2 separate regions of the Homo sapiens genome follow, and region 2 is linked to region 1. Evidence: promoter capture Hi-C in human tissues and cell types (Jung and others, 2019). All regions are on one chromosome and are shown on one strand. The core of a region is centred on a gene start or on the middle of the fragment in contact, and the rest is flanking DNA. Distances in the headings are between cores, read along the strand shown. Region 1 holds the start of MEIS3 (Meis homeobox 3). Region 2 overlaps BICRA (BRD4 interacting chromatin remodeling complex associated protein).

Evidence for each region. Contacts are between HindIII fragments. The study calls those that stand out against the background at their distance.
Region 2: a fragment that was not itself captured here is called in contact with the fragment with the promoter of MEIS3 in region 1 in 2 of the 25 tissues and cell types used here (IMR-90 fibroblasts and neural progenitor cells).

The regions. Positions count from the first base shown.
Region 1 is chr19:47,418,187-47,420,937 of GRCh38, forward strand. MEIS3 (Meis homeobox 3) reads right to left here and starts at 1,341. Exons shown (of 13, transcript NM_001301059.2): 1 at 884-1,341. The coding sequence starts at 895. RefSeq lists enhancers at 1-427, 428-1,421. The HindIII fragment of the contact is 42,961 bases long and covers 1-2,751 here.
Region 2 is chr19:47,613,205-47,615,955 of GRCh38, forward strand. The region is part of intron 1 of BICRA (BRD4 interacting chromatin remodeling complex associated protein); the gene reads left to right. Among named protein-coding and RNA genes, the nearest start is that of BICRA, 5.4 kb to the left of the region's middle. RefSeq lists enhancers at 1-230, 1,893-2,722. The HindIII fragment of the contact is 4,325 bases long and covers 1-2,751 here.

The DNA.
Region 1 (2,751 bases), core at 91-2,590:
CCTTCCTCTCATCAGGTCAAATCCCTTCCTCAGTGATGAAGACACGGAGGCTCAAAGAGGCAGCAGGACTCGCACGGGAAGAGGCTAGAACGTTCCTGCCTCGGACCCTCGCCTGGCTGGGCACCCTGGTTCTGTGTGTCCCACTCTTTCCCTCTCCCTCTTCTCCTAACTTCTCCTGTGCCCTGAAGTTGAATCCAACTGCTCCCCGCTGCTCAAGGCACTCTCACCAAAAGCGGTCCTCACAGCCTACCCGGAACCCCCAAAACGGGCGCGCGCCTCCTCCCCTGTCTTCTATCCCCGTTCCCATCCCCAGGGAGACAGGCTCCGTGGGGCCAGCAGCCTGGTGAGACCACCTCTCCCACCCCTGTCCCACTCCTAGCCCTGGAGAGGCAGGGGCGGCTTGGAACAAAAGTAGAGCGAAGGGAAGGACGGAGGAGAGCAGAAAAAAGGGGGGACGGTGAGGTGCGGGCGGCTGAGATGGAGGAGGAAGCCCAGGAACAGAGGAGAGAGACTGCGGGTGGGGGAGGGCAGAGAGAGGGGGATAGAGAGGCAGAAAGAGGGGGGAGACCAGGGACAGAGAGAGGGGGACAGAGAGGCAGAAAGGAGGAGGAGAGTGGGGCAGACAGAGGGGGACAGAGGGGCAGGGAGAAGGAGAAGCTAAACGATGGGGAGGAGGCGAGGCCGAGGGCCAGGAAGAGACACTTGGGGGCAGAGAGGGGGCACACAGGGACTGGGAGACCCAGGGGCGGAGGGAGGGGCAGAGAGAGAGCGAGGTGGTGTAGAGGACGGATGGGCTAATGGGGGCCAGCGCCGGAGAGTGGGGGATGCAGGGACAGGGGGTGCGGAAGCGGCCGGGACGCGGGGTCCCCGCCCCGAGACCTACCCTCCGGGCCATGGGCTGAGGCCGGCGGCAGCTCCTGGGTCCCTCCAGAGCCTGGCCGCGGGGGAGGGCGCAGCCCGGGGCCGCAGCCCCTGACGGCCCGCGGTGTTGACGCCAGGGGGTGGGCAGGAGGCCAGGCGCGCGCCCCCCCACCCCCGCCGCCGTCAGCGGCAGGCGCCGGGCCGGGTGGGGACTCCGCGCATGGACCCCGGCCCCCGCCCCCAGCGGGGGTCACGGCCAGGAGCGCATCGCCGCCGGGGCGGGGGCAGCAGGCGCAGGCGGGGCGCCCGAGGCCCCCTCCTCTGGGCCCCCCCCGTCCCTTCCCCGGCTCTGGAGGGAATCGAACCGTCCCGAGACGGACACACCGGGGACCGCAGGGGGCGGGGGGCGGCCCGGGGCGACGGAGGGTCCGGCGGCGGCTCAGGGGTGCTGGCAGCCGCGCTCCCCGTTCCCGGTCTCTCCCTTGTCTTGTGGAAATTAAACAGAACCACCAAGGAGCGGGATAGGGGATGAGCCAGAGTGAGCCTGCAGAGCTACAGCACGAGGGATTGGGGTTAGGGCAGCAGCAGCACTTCCGGTGGGAGTCGGGGAGGGGCAGGCTGTGGGGGGAGGAGAGGAAGAGACCGCGGCCCTGGTGCCCCCAGGCCCCTCCTCTCCTACCCAGGGCTGGGGTTCCTGCTCCGGGTTTCTCAGTCTCCCTCTTTCCCAGTCTCTCTCTCCTTGTCTCTCTCTGTCTCCGCTTCTCCCGTCCTTTCTCTCCTCTGGCTCTCTGTTCTCCGAGCCCCCTGGACACACCACGGACCCCCTCCCTGGCCATCTCCAGGGGTCACGTGGGAATCTGGAGTCTGGTCCCACCGTAGGCTCTCCCCTCTCTGAGGCTCGATTCCCCCTCTGCAGGATGGGCAGTGCGCTGGGGGCGGCGGGGGTGGGCTGTGGATAACGGAGAAACAGTTAAGCTAGAGGGTGCCAGGACTCAGGGTCTTGGCTGAGTCTGGGGGTCCCCATGCCGGCGGGCTCTGCCCCCGTGGCTGTCCTGCGGTGAGGCTGGCCGTTTAAGGCAGTCCGAGGGGAAGGGTCTGGAGGCCTTGCCTTTCCTCAAGGCCGGCGCACCCCAGATAGGGGTTTTGGAGCAGAAAATTAATTTAAATCACTTTTTAATTAAAGACACAAGGCCCTTTGGTCTGCTCCACCCCCACCTCACCCTCAGCCAAGACTTGGGGTGAGGGATGCAAGGGTTAGGAGTCTCTGGCTCTATTTGCTTTTTTGGGGGGTGGTGCATGCTAAGGTCCCCTTAGCCCAGGCTGATTCTGAAACCTAGAGGAGCAAGTGCGGCCTCATCTGACGGCCAGTGGTGGGGGGCGTGGACAGAGCAGGAAGGGAGGGAGGGGGCACCTGGGATGGGGATGGGGCCTAACTGGAGTGGGGAGGGAGGTAACTCCAGTGACGGTGTGATTCAGAGAGAGAGAGAGACAGAGACAGACGCGGGTGGGAGGAGAGAGAGAGAGAGGTGCAGACAGAGTGAGACAGACAGGAGGGGGAGGGAGTGGGGGACAGGAGCTCCAATAGAGACCCTGGAGTCGTCCCTGCCACCCCCAAAACAAGAGCAGGGGGCTTGGACTCTGAAGCATAAATCTTTCTAATTAAAGAAAGAGACGAGCTGTTGGGAAGGGAGAAATAAGTGTGTGGGAGAGAAATTGATTGGGGGAGGATGGAGGATGCCGGCGGGGGACGGAGGGAGCAGGGGGGAGGCTCCGGCTTTCTGAGGCTCTTCCTCCAGTCTTTCCCTCTGTCTGTCCATCCGTCTGTCTGTCCGTCTCTGTCTCTCGCTCTCTCTCTCTCTCTCTCACACACACACACACACACACACACAC
Region 2 (2,751 bases), core at 160-2,659, 200 kb after region 1:
TTCCTGGGGGTGTATAAGGCTCCCCAGGTTCCCGTGGGCCACCTTGTAGCCCAGGTCTAGCCAGCAGCCCAGTTCCCCCGCCAGCTCTCAACCCCCACCCGCCAGGCTGCCTTGACTCCAGGTCTCAAGAATGCAGAAGGCTGCTGGTAGGGGAAGTTAATTGGAAACAGGAAAACATGGCATTCCTTTCCAGGCCGCCTGGGCTTGGAAGGCAGAGGGGCTGCCATTTCCCTTCTCCCGCCCTGCAGGGGAGAGGGGTGGGGAGTATGGTTATCTTGCCCTGGTCATATTTGAGCTTTCTTCCCCGACCAGGCACCCTCACTTAGTAGAAACAAGAGCAGTCACCCGTGCCGTGTCCACGATGACAACTGCTGCCTGCTCCCCCAGCAGAAGAATTGCCCCCTCCTTACTCACCCCTTCATATCCCTCTGGTTTTTTGTCCCCTGTCTTGTCTGAGCTAGCTCCCTGGTAGGATGCACCTTATGCCACACTAGAGACGCATGGGGAGCGTTTGGTTGAGGGGTCCCCAGGGAGTGTCTCCTGGTTCCGTCCCTCGCATTCTCCTCTGCCTGGAGTACCACCAGTAGAGTTTTGTCCCAGTTGACTGAAGCTTTTGTGTCTCAGTGACACGCAAGTTTCCCCAGTGGAGAGGGAGAGTTTTCTAAGGCATTTCTAGTTTGGTGACAATTAGTTTTGTGTATGAGTGTATGTATTCATTGGGGGGAGGGGGAAAGGAGTGTTGGCACAAGCAGAGAAGGCCTTTGTTTCTTTAATTGTTCCCAATTAAACTTCCTGAGGGCCTACTGTGTGACAGGGCCCTGGGGATCAGTTAAGACCTTGGGACACAGTCCAGGAGGAGGAGAGAGAACGGTTGGATTAGCCGCTGTGGGGTTTCATTCATTCTGTCTGGGTGGTCTGAGACATCATCTTTTTCTCTGTCTGCCTTTTGTTCCTTTTGTTCTAAGTGATACACACACGGGGCAAATTCAGAACACTAAAGATGGTGTCTCTCCCTCTAACCTCTCCAGAATCCCTGGTCCCCTAGCTCTCTTCCCCAGAGACAGCACCTCCATTCTGATGTTCTGTGCATGTACTTTTATATATGGATGTTATGTGTTTAAAACTATTCAGGCCGGGCATGGTGGCTCACGCCTGTAATCCCAGCACTTTGGGAGGCTGAAGTGGGCAGATCACCTGCGGTCAGGAGTTCAAGACCAGCCTGGCCAACATGGTGAAACCCCATCTCTCCTAAAAATACAAAAATGAGCTGGGCATGGTGGTGCATGGCTGTAATCCCAGCTACTCAGGAGCCTGAGGCAGGGGAATTGCTTGAATGCAGGAGGCGGAGGTTGCGGTGAGCCGAGATTGCGGTAGCACTGCACTCCACTCCAGCCTGGGCGACACAGCGAGACTCTGTCTAAAACAAACAAACAGACAAACAAAAAACTATTCATCTTACACAGATGGTAGTCTGGTCTATGCATTGCTTTTTTTCCACGCTTCATCTCCCTGGGAGACCCTACCAATGTAGGTCTTCCTCTATCTTTTTCTTGGCTGCATGGTATTCCTCTGTGTGGGTGAATCCTCCTTTACTGTTATGGACGTGGAGGTGTTTCCAAAGGTTTCTGTGTGAAGCATGGGAAGGCATACGTCCGCACATGTTACAGGGAAATGAGTACGCCTGTGGGATAGACTCCTGGAAGTGGGATTGCTAGATCAAGGGCCAGTGATTTGTCTTTTGGTAGCTCTTACGGAGCACCTTTGATGTTGCACGTTGCATCTTTTTTTATTTTTTTGAGACAGAATCTTGCTGTGTCACCCAGGCTGGAGTGCAGTGGCGCCATCACTTTTCACTGCAGCATTATCCTTCCTGGGCTCAAGTGAGCCTCGCATCTCAGCCTCCCCAGTAGCTGGGACTACAGGTGCACGCCACCACGCCCAGGGAGTTTTAATATTTTTGGTAAAGACGAGGTCTCACTGTGTTGCCCAGGCTGGTCTTGAAATCCTGTTCAAGCACTCCTCCCGCCTTGGCCTCCCAATGTGCTGGGATTACAGGCGTGAGCCACCGTGCCCGGCCCCTCATGCTGCACCTTGAAGAAAGTTGTTCTCTTTCTCTCCTCTTCAATGTGATCCCACCTGTCGCCCAGGCAGCATCTCCAGGCTGCACGTGTCTTTGCCTCAGGTGACCTCCTTGTGTCTGATGACCTCCTTGCCTCTTCCTCCTGCTTATGGCCTGCGTCATGTGCTTGCCACCTGGTGTGGAGGTCAGGAGCGTGGGCTCTGGGCCCTGCCTGTTGGTTCTAATCCCAGTTCTGCTATTTGCTGGCTGAATGGCTGTGGACAGGGGACTTGCTTGGGGCCTTGGTTTTCCCCTCTATTAAGTGGGTTCATATCAGTACCTACTTGGTAAGGCTCTTGTGAGGGTCCCCAAACACCCATAAAGTGCCAAGGTAGCCTTGTCAGTCAGTGTCGGTGTCACCTGTCATTCTTAGGCAGTTTATTTCTCCTGGGGACTGTGACCCCCTTAATTGGCAGGTGTTGGATGGAATGCTGGCTTCTCTGCTTAATTGCAGTGTGACCCTGGGCAAGCAATTCCTTTGCATGGCCTCAGTTTCCTTGTCTATAAAATGGGCCCATGATGCCTCCCTCGTAGGGTCTGCTGTGAGGCTGAACGAAGCAATGTTCTGCCAAGCTGGGCAGGCAGTCGCTTTCAGGAACTAGCAAATGATGCTGCTGTTGTTTTCACTATGA